3 separate regions of the Homo sapiens genome follow, and regions 2 and 3 are each linked to region 1. The links are contacts of gene promoters, found by promoter capture Hi-C in blood cells and fetal thymus (Javierre and others, 2016). All regions are on one chromosome and are shown on one strand. Each heading gives the region's core, a stretch centred on a gene start or on the middle of the fragment in contact. The rest is flanking DNA. Distances are from core to core; before and after follow the strand shown.

Region 1 (3,735 bases), core at 703-3,202:
ATTTGGGTTATATTCAGCCCCATCCACTCTCAGCCCATTCACTCTCAAGATGGACCAACTCTCCCAGCCTAAGGATTCTCCCACTCTTTAGGCATCTGCTATGCCTTTAAATCTCTCAGCTCCCACCATGTTCTCCCCAGTCCACTCCTGACTCAATAGCCTCTCCTGCAGCTGGTAGATGGGGAATCATCTTCAAGACTGTAATGATCACACCATCGCTATGACCCAGCCCTAGTGACTTCTCTCGACTAGCTCTTCACCTCCCCCTGCCATCCCCCCACCCTCAATCCATTTGAAGTATCATTCCTTATGATTGACAGACACCAGAAACAAATTTGTGAGTTTTAATGAAATGTGGACCCTAAGCAACCTGAAACAAAGTCATTTCTATCTATTAGTTATATTTGTCTTCATTTTTGGAGCTGTTGTGGACATCTGAGGAGTGGTCCAGCCAAGGATTCCATGAATTGTTACTGGTTGGATTGTTAAATAACGACTAGGAACACAGCACCGTTTACGATTTCGGCAGCGTATGATGCTGTCTTCACCATCTTTGCACAACAACCGGCAGTGTCCATCCATCCAACACTCTACTTTGGGGCATATGAACAACAATTAAGCAGATGTTAGTATCCCTCAAGCGGAGAGAAAAGACAAGGCAGAGGAGGAACAGGAGGACAGGGAAGAAGAGAAGAAAGCCAGCTGAGTGAGTAATGCCAGACCCAGTCCCAGGAAAAGAGAGAAGAGACCTTGAGAGGGAAGAGAACTGAGACAATGGTTCCAACTGAGAGCTCCGAAGTTTTTGGGAGAGCCTTTTTTGGACTTCTCACCCTTCTGTCTTCCTAGCCCCCAACTTCCTACTCCTTACTTTGGAATCAACTGAAGCTAATTAATGTCCCACCTAGCAGAGCTAGGGATGAAGGGAAAAGGACATGATCACCTGTAATATTAGGGAACGAAGAGGATTCACTCACATTACACAGACCCTGTTTCTTATCAATAACCTGACCCTATTTCACATAAGCCCAACAAGCCTCAGCTCCAGCCGCATCCCAATCTGCAATCTTCCTTGACCCTATATTAACCCAATTCAAACTCAAACTCATTCAGGCCTGCCTTAATTAGAACTCCCAGCCTTACTCAACTCAATGCCCCCAAGCCCCAACTCCAAGCCAAACCCTAATCTAATCTAATCTAACCCTAATCTAATCAAGTCACTAACCTCAATTCCCAGCAGTATGCCATGACCAAGCTGAACCCAATCACCCTGCAGCATCCAGCACCGACTCCCAGCCTCAGCCCAAGCCCCAGCCTAATCCTCAACACCAGCTCCACTCAACCCCAAATCCCATCCTGTCTCCAACTCTGCCCTAAACCATCAGGGAAGCCCAGCTCCTCACCTCCAGCTCATCCTAATATTCCTTCTATCACTCCAATCCCAAGGTTTTTCCTCCACATCACAACTCACCCCAGCTTCCACTCTAGTCTCCCGAAGTCCTCAACAAGTCCCCAACCTGCACCCACGCTTTGCCCCTCAAACCTCTCCCAAGCTCCCACCAGGATACCACCCTGGCCCTCAAGCACCAGATGCTCCAAACATCTATCATCCCACCACTCTGGCAAAAAAGAATCAGAGAGAGATATTAACTTGAGATGATCCTGGGCAAACCTCCCGAAGCTGCAGGAGAGAAGGAAAGGCTTCAGATGATGCCCACAGTGAGAGGGAAGGGAAAGACGGGAAGCCCATGACCAGGAACCCAGACCCCCGAGAGAGGTTCACGTTACCTGATATCACTGGTTCTTCTATGGCCAGAAGGATGGCAAGAAACAGGTAAAGAAGTTTCATGGCTGGCAGACCTGAGAGGAGGAGGTGGCTGAGCTGCAGGGGAAGGAAATAGGGTTCCCTGCAGCACGGCAGAGATGAGCTTTGCTTTTATCAGCAGGGCTGTGGGCAGTGAATTAGAACAGGAGGGGATTTATATGAGGTCATCCAGGCCAAAGGACAGTGTGTAGCAGATGTCTCAGCAAAGCACAAGATGAGAGTGTGGGAAACTGGCCAGTACCAATGCCAGTAAAGGGACAGGTCAATTAAAGCCATTTGGCCTGTGAGACCCACAAAGGAATTAATTAATGCATAATAAATACATATCAAGAAATATTTAACTTAAAAATTACTTTGCACTTCTCTGATAAATAGTAAGAACATTTATTCAACACATGTATTTGTCTCTTTGTTTCTTCCTTTTGAATTATTTAGTCAGATATCTGGACAATTCTATTGGGGTGTTGTTGGGTACTTGCTGATTTGCAAGAGCTCTTCAGTGCTGTTATTATATTAACTGTCTTGTCATGTTTGGTGACAATATTGTTCTCCATGATTATGTTCTGTTTTAAAATATATTTTTTCCTATAAATGTTTAAAAGATATTTAAATCTTAAAAACTAAATTAAACAGGCCAGGTGTGGTGGCTCACACCTGTAATCCCAGCACTTTGGGAGGCGAAGACAGGGAGATCACAAGGTCAGGAGTTCGAGACCAGCCTGGCCAACATGGTGAAACCCCGTCTCTACTAAAAATACAAAAATTAGCCAGGTGCCTGTAATCCCAGCTACTAGGGAGGTTGAGGCAGGAGAATTGCTTGAACCTGGGAGGCAGAGGTTGCAGTGAGCTGAGATCACGCTATTGCACTCCAGCCTAGGTGACAGAGCAAAACTCCATCTCGAAAATAAAAATAAAAAAATTTTAAAAAATAAATTAAACGAGAATTACTTATTCTCAGCTTTCTAACAGAAGGATACACATGTGTCTCAGCTTTCTAACAGAAGGATACACATGTGTAATGTCTTTCAGAACTTTGAACTTGCCAATCTTGTTTCCAGTTCAGGGCCTTAGCAGTTGTCATCTGTTCTCCCTGTAAAGCTCTTTCTCCAAATCTTCCCATGAAAATCTCCTGCTCATCATTCCATATCATCCCAAATGTCACCTCCTTGGAGAGACTTTCCCTGGCCACCTTAGATAACGGTAACTCCAACCCACAGTCACTCTGGACTGTAATAACTTGGTTTATGATCTTCATATATGTATCTATTCTTTTAAATTTTATTTTACATGTTTGATTTTTGTCTCTCCACTTAGAATGTCAGAAACCTGGCTTATAACCCCAGTACCCATAACATCACCTGGTGTATTAAGATACTTATTCAACTGTTTTAACTGATATTCCCCCCAAATAAGAATGATTCCAAAAGACAGACATGGATTTCTTTTTTATGTAAAAGTCTGGGTATGCAGTTAAGTGTGACAGCTTCACCATTCAGCAGGGATCTAGGTTCCTTTTGGCTTGATGCTCTGCCATCCTCAAGAGGCTGCATCATGTGATGACCCTGAGCTGCTCCAGTTCCCACCGTCAAGTTCCCATCCAGCCATCAGGAAAGGAGGAGTGATGGAAGTGAAATGCAACACCTTTCCCTTTAAGGACACCACTCAGAAGTTTCACCCCTCGGCTTGGCACAGTGGCTCACACCTGTGATCCCAGCACATTGGGAGGCCAAGGTCGGTGGATCATTTGAGGTAGGAGTTCAAGACCAGCCTGGCCAAACTGATGAAACCTCGTCTCTACTAAAAATACAAAAAAAAAAAAAAAAATTAGCCAGACGTGGTGGTGAGCACCGTAATCCCAGCTACTCAGGAGCCTGAGGCAGGAGAATGGCTTGAACCCAGGAGGTGGAAGTTGC
Region 2 (3,680 bases), core at 511-3,010, 82 kb before region 1:
ATGCCAAGATTTGACAGGAGACAATTCCAAACATTCCAGTCTCCTGACTTCCTCTATCTCAGCCATCTACAGTCACATCTATTGTTCTTCAGTGCCCTTGAAAATCACACTTAAGAAACTTTCTTCAGAATTTGAAAATAATACTGGATATTTTTCATCCAGTGTTTATTCTCCCCATTTCCTTATTTAAATCACTTTGTTGAAGTACAATTGGCACACAAAAAGCTATACATATTTAATTTATACATTTTGATGAGTTTGGAGATAAGCATACATTACACCCATGAAACCATCATCACAATCTATGCCATAAACCTATCCACGCCTAAAAGTTTTCTCCCACCATCTTATTTATTATTTTTGGTACATCAAATCTTATTTTAAGAACACTTAACATAAAATCCACTCCCTTGGTAATTTTTGAAATATCCAACACAGTACCGTTAACTATAGGAACTGTGTTGTACAGTAGATTTCTAGGACATATTCATGACAGTATAGTCTCTTCAATAAATGTATTGGGAAAACTAGGTATCTAGATGCAAAATAATAAAATTGGATATTTATCTTACACCATACACAAAAACAAATTCAAAATGGATTAAAGACTTAAATCTAAGACCTGAAACTATAAAACTCCTAGGAGAAAACATAGAGAAAAAGCTTCTTGACGTTGGCCTTGGGAAGGATTTTCTGGATATGACACCAAAGCACAGGCAACAAAAGCAAAAATAAACAAGGGGATTGCAGCAATCTAGAAAGTTTCTGCACAGCAAAGGAAACAGTCTACAAAATGAAGAAACAACCTATGGAATGGGAGAAAATATTTGCAAATCATATATCTGAGAAGGAGTCAATATTCTCCTTATTTCAATAGCCACAACCCTGCTGTGATGAATTCAACTGTCTTACTCAAGCTTAATCACCCCCAAACCCAGGCTAAGTCAATCCCTGCCCAGATAAACCTCACATACCCATGACTGAATAAGATACCCACTTTAGGCAAACACTAACTACAACTCAAGCCCTACCTCTTCTAATAACCACCAAAAGCCCAACTGCAAAACATACAAACATAACACTATCCAAGCCACCCAACCCCATTCACAGCATCAATCTAAAACACAACCCAGCTACAAACCTCTCTATACCCCAACTCCCAGTTGCACCAACTCTACCCCAGCTCCATTCAAGAAAAAATACCATTTCCTCTCTAGAATGCACCAAAACATCTATTCAGCCCAACCTATAAATACAATTATTCACCCCATGCTCATCCCCACTCACTTTTTGGATATTACCCTATCTCTAAGGTCTTACAACCTCCCCACCTCAACTCCCTACCCAACTCCAAACTGCTATACCCCTCCTATAGCTCCTCAACTTGCACACAGTCTCTCACACCTAACTCATGAATTAAGCCCCCATCCCAATGACAGCACTACCTAAAATGTTCCATGCTTAGACTGTCCACTATGCCAGGATCAACAACCTCTTCAATTTGTCTTGGCAGAGCAGAACCAGGGGAGATCTTTACATGAAATTAACCTTGGGAATAACATCTGTGACCCACCTGAGACCAGAAAAGGCTTTAGGTGTTGCCCACTATATGTGAGTAGGAGTCACTGCAGAGGTCACCAAGATACCAGTACCACATGCAAGACGCCAGAACCTTTGAGAGAGGCCTGAGTTACCTGGAGTCTTTTGAGCCAGGATCATAAGGATGGCAATGGTCATTAAACAGGGCTTCATGACTGACATGTTCCACCAGAATGAAGGGCTGTGTTGCAGGTGACCAAACAGAGATCACTGTAGCAGAGCAGTAGCCCGCCTTTATTAGTTTTGGAAATGCGTCAGGGTTCTGTGCAGTGAACTAAAAGGGATGGGAGATACCTGATGTCAGGCAGGAAGAAGGACAACATGTATCACTTATCTGAGCTGGATACTCTGTGTAAGCGTGGGAGACTTGCCAGCAGTGCTCATGTCTGTGTGGGCCTTTCTTCCCATTAAGAAATAAAGACAAATTAGAGCCAGTTGGCATTTTGTGTGAAACGAATTTGAATGAATGAATCAACCAAGCAAGCAAGCAAACTTGAAAAAACTTATAAACAATTAGATAAGAAATAAGCACGTGTATACCTATGTGAGGCACGTGTATACCTATGTAACAAACCTGCACGTTCTGCACATGTACCCCAGCACTTAAAGTATAATTGTAAAAAAAGAAATAAATAATTATTTTTAACTGTAGTCACCATGCTGTGCCCACAGAACACCAGAACTTATTCCTCCTATCTAACCGAAAGTTTGTACCCATTGACCAATGTCTCCCCTTTCCCCATCCACCCTCCCTCGAGGCTCTGGTAACAACCATGCTAATCTCTACGTCTATGAGTTCAATTTTTTTAGATTCCACATCTAAGTGAGATCATATGGTATGTGTCTCTCTGTGCCTGCTTTATTTCACTTCACATAGTGTCTTCTAGGTTCATTCATATGATTGCAAATAACAGAATTTTCTGTTTTTTAAAGGCTGAATAGTACTCCAGTATCTATAGTTAATAATAATGTAAAGAGCTAAAAGAAAGATTTTTAAATGACCTCATCACAAATAAATAATAAATATTTGAGGTGATGGACATGCTGATCTCTCAATTAATTGATCCCTTTATTATTATATAATGACCTTCTTTGTCTCACTTTGTGGTTTTTTACCTAAAGTCTATTTTTTCTGTTGTAAGAAAAGCTGTTCCTGCTCTTTTCTGGTTTCTTTTTCCATGGAACATCTTTTTCCATCACTTAACTTTCAGCCTATGTGTTTCCTTAAAACTGAAATGAGTCTCTTGTAAGCAAAATACAGTTGAGTCATTTAAAAAAATCAATTCAGCCACTCCTTCAATTGGCAAACTGAATCCATTTACATTCAAAGTAAGTATTGATAGGTAAGGATTTACTTTTGCCATTTTGTTCATTCTTTTCTGGTTATTTTATACATCCTTTGTTCCTTTCTTCCTCTTTTGCTATCTTCCTTTGTGATTAGATTATTTTCTATATTAGAATGCTTTGATTCCTTTCTTCTTATCCTTTGTGTATCTACTGTCAGTTTTTGCTTTGTGATTACTATAAGGGTTACACAAAACATATGTTGTTATAACCGGCTGTTTAAAGCTGATAACCACTTAACTTTGGTTGCAAAATATGATTCTACATTTTTATTGTATCTCTCCTGATAATTTATGTTTCTGATGTCACAATTTACTGTTTATATTGTGTGTATCCCTTATCAGATTATTGTAACTTATTATTAATAGTTTTGTATTTTGTTTTATACTCAATATATTAGTGACTTATCATCTTTACAGTATTAGAGTATTCTGAATTTAACTGTGTACTTACTTTTACCAGTGAGTTTCATACTTGCACCTGTTTTCATTTTAGTTATTAACATCCTTTCCTTTCAGCTTGAAATATTTTCTTTAGCATTCCTTGATAGACTGGCCTGGTAGAAATGAACTCTCTCAGATTTTGTTTGTCTGTGAAAGTCTTTATCTTTTCTTCATTTCAGAAGCAAGGACTTGCTCAGTAAAATACTTTTGTTTGGAAGCTTTTTTCCTTCAGCATTTTGAATATATCATCTCACTCTCCTGACCTGTGAGGCTTCAGTGGAGAAATTGACTGAC
Region 3 (3,548 bases), core at 182-2,681, 100 kb after region 1:
AGTTAGCTGGGCATGGTGGCACGTGCCTGTGTTCCCAGCTGCTCAGGAGGCTGAGGCAGGGGAATCACTTGAATCCTGGAGGCAGAGGTTGCAGTGAGCCGAGATCATGCCCCTGCACTCCAGCCTGGGCGACAGACCAAGACTCTGTCTCAAAAACAAAAAAAAAAATAGTATTTCTCACTAAGGGTCGATGTGAGAATTCAATCAGGTTGGCTATTTGTTAGCATGATGCTTTGCACTCAGTAAGCACTCAATAAATTGTAATGCATTTCCATGCATTACTTTATACTTTTTCCCACAGATATATTTTGCTAAGGCAAAGTATTGGATGCTTTTAAACATCATACTATATGTATCCTTCAGCTTTATTATTTTTCACATTCAACATTATATTTATGAGATTCCTTGTGTTGAAATCTGTAACTATTCTTTTTCATCACTGCACAGTATTCCACTGTATGAACATATAAGATTTATTTATCTTTTCTTCCTCTTGATGGGCTTTTTTTCTGCTATAAATAATGCACTATGAACATTGCATGTGCCTCTTTGAGCACAAATATGAGAGTTCCTCTTTCCATCTTTCCACTCTGCCATCTTCTGGGTCTCAGCTTGCCCTGGGATAGCTACCCTTAGGGTCCCAATATGGCCACCCCAGTTTCAGGCATGAAACGTGGACATGACAAGGTCCAGGCAAAGCAAAAAGGTTGTCTCTTCCTCAGCATGTCCCTTTCATCAGCAAGGAAACTCTTCCAGTTCTCACTGGCCAGAATCTGGTTACATGGCCACCTTCAAACTAATCAGTGGCTTAGGTTAATCAGGGTTTGCATAAAGTACAACATGACCACACCAAGAAGAAAAGCTAGAGCTGGGTTAACACCCCAAGTGCTCTAGTCAGGCAGTCAAGGGTGCATGCTCTTAGCTTTTCCAGTCTTACAAAACAGTCCAGAGTGAGTGTGACCATTCCAAATCCAGTCCACTTCAGGGTCTACCCAACTCTGTGAATGAGGATAGATGCCTTTTCACAGAATTGTCTGGAATGAAACTTTGGGAGGCCAAAGTGGGCAGATCACCTCAGGTCAGGAGTTCAAGACCTGCCTGGCCAACATGGTGAAATCCTGTCTCTACTAAAAATACAAAAAAAAAAAAAAATAGCGAGACACGGTGGTGCGGGCCTGTAATCCTAGCTACTTGGGAGGCTGAGGCAGGAGAATCCCTTGAACCAAGGAAGCGGAGGTTGCAATAAGCCAAGATTGCACCACTGCACTCCAGCCTGAGCAACAGAGCAAGACAATGTTTCCAAAAAAAAAAAGATTGTCTGGAAAGCAATTTTTGAGTCTTACATACACACATACACATGCACACACATTAATTCCAAAACTGAAACCAGGATTCACTAACTCAAATGCTCACAGAGTCAGACCAATAATATAAGTCAGTGAAGTCAACTGGGTAGAGGACATTAGGCAGCATCAAGTCTATGGCAAACTGGAATCAGCTGCCTTGCCTAAAAGGAGGATACGAACTAAGCTGCCTGTGACTACTGTTGGAATATGAACCCAGTGTTGCCAGATACCGCATGTCAGTTTTTCTAAGAAAGGCAGAGAGCCAGATCTTTATGTGAAGTATCCCAATCCTTTTGTTTTGAGGCAGGGTCTCACTCTATTGCCCCAGGCTAGAGTGCAGTGGTGCGATCACAGCTCACTGCAGCCTCAACCTCCCAGGCTCAGGGGATCCTCCTGCCTCAGCCTCCAAGTAGCTGGGCCACAGGCATGCACCACCAGGCATAGCTAATTTTTTTTTTCTTTTTTTGTACAGTCAGGGTCTCTCTATGTTGCTCGGGCTGGCTTCAAACTCCTGGACTCAAATGATCCTCCCGTCTTGGCTTCCCAAAGTGCTGGGATTACAAGTGTGAGCCACTTCACCCAGCCCTAATTCTTTTTTATTTTTTTTTTTTGAGATGGAGATTCGCTCTTGTTGCCCAGGCTGGAGTGCAATGGTGCGATCTCAGCTTACAGCAACCTCCACCTCCCAGGTTCAAGCGATTTTCCTACCTCAGCCTCCCGAGTAGCTGGAACTACAAGCATGCACCACCACACCCAGCTAATTTTTTGTATTTTTATTAGAGATGGGGTTTCTCCATGTTGATCAGGCTGGTCTCGAACTCCCGACCTCAGGTGATCTGCTCACCTCGGCCTCCCAAAGTGCTGGGATTACAGGCATGAGCCACCGCGCCTGGCCACCCAGCCCTAATTCTTAAATAATTATTGCTGATTGTCATTTTGTGTTTTTTTGTTTGTTTGTTTTTTGAGATGGAGTCTCACTCTGTCACCCAGGCTGGAGTACAGTGGCGCGATCTTGGCTCACTGCAACCTCTGCCCCCCGGATTCAAGAGATTCTCCTGCCTCAGCCTCCCGAGTAGCTGAGATTACAGACACCTGCCACCGTGCCCGGCTATTTTTTTTTTTTTTTTGAGACTGTGTCTCACTCTGTTGCCCAGGCTGTAGTGCAGTGGCGTGATCTCGACTCACTGCAAGCTCTGCCTCCCGGGTTCACACCATTCTCCTGTCTCAGCCTCCCAAGCAGCTGGGACTACAGGCACCCGCCACCACGCCCGGCTATTTTTTTTTTTTTTTGTATTTTTAGTAGAGACGGGGTTTCACCGTGTTAGCCAGGATGGTCTCAATCTCCTGACCTCGTGATCCACCCGCCTCAGCCTCCCAAAGTGCTGGGATTACAGGCATGAGCCACCACGCCTGGCCTAATTGTGATTTTTTTTTTAAACCCTGGTGCCTGGGCACGGTGGTTCACACCTGTAATCCCAGCACTTTGGGAGGCCGACGTGGGTGGACCACTTCAGGTCAGGAGTTCGAGACCGGCCTGGCCAGCATGGTGAAACTCAGTCTCTACTAAAAATACAAAAAATTAGCCAGGCATGGTGGCAGGCGCCTGTAATCCCAGCTACTCAGGAAGCTGAGGCAGGAGAATTGCTTGAACTCGGGAGGCAGAGGTTGCAGTAAGTTGAGATTGTGCCACTGCACTCCAGCCTGGGCAACAGAGCGAGACTCCATCAAAAAAAAAAACAAAAAAAAAACAAAACAAACAAACAAAAAAAACAGCTTGGGACGGGTACAGTGGCTCTTGTCTGTGATCCGTTCACTTTGAGAGGCCAACACCAGTGGATCTCTTGACCCCAGGAATTCAAGACCAGCCTGGGCAGCACAGTGAAACCCCATCTCTACAAAAATTACAAGAATTAGCCAGATGTAGTGGCCACACCTGTAGTCCCAGCTACTTGGGAGGCTGAGGTGGGAGGATCCCCTGAGCCCTCGAGGTCAAGGTTACAGTGAGCCGTGATCGCACCACTGCACTCCAGCCTGGGCGACAGAGGAAGACCCTGTCTCTAAAAAAAAATAAAATAAAATAAAAGGGAAAAGTTCAGAATAGGTTTTATTTTTATCAAGCAGGAAATTGTTCTACCAGAAATTTCCCTTTGCCTCTTGCTACCCCAAACAAGACGGCTTCTATGAACGAGGGAGAAGTGGGTG

Evidence for each region. The method cuts DNA at HindIII sites, captures the fragments that hold promoters and counts their contacts. A CHiCAGO score of 5 or more calls a contact.
Region 2: a contact is called between the fragment with the promoter of DEFB116 here and the fragment with the promoter of DEFB119 in region 1, in 1 of 17 cell types (M1 macrophages). The highest score is 5.3, in M1 macrophages.
Region 3: a contact is called between a fragment that was not itself captured here and the fragment with the promoter of DEFB119 in region 1, in 1 of 17 cell types (M1 macrophages). The highest score is 6.2, in M1 macrophages.

The regions. Positions count from the first base shown.
Region 1 is chr20:31,388,638-31,392,372 of GRCh38, forward strand. DEFB119 (defensin beta 119) reads right to left here and starts at 1,953. Exons shown (of 2, transcript NM_153289.4): 1 at 1,786-1,953. The coding sequence starts at 1,846. The HindIII fragment of the contact is 16,203 bases long and covers 1-3,735 here.
Region 2 is chr20:31,306,825-31,310,504 of GRCh38, forward strand. DEFB116 (defensin beta 116) reads right to left here and starts at 1,761. Exons shown (of 2, transcript NM_001037731.1): 1 at 1,695-1,761. The coding sequence starts at 1,761. The HindIII fragment of the contact is 2,687 bases long and covers 916-3,602 here.
Region 3 is chr20:31,489,531-31,493,078 of GRCh38, forward strand. No RefSeq gene overlaps it. Among named protein-coding and RNA genes, the nearest start is that of LINC00028, 5.5 kb to the left of the region's middle. The HindIII fragment of the contact is 4,898 bases long and covers 1-3,548 here.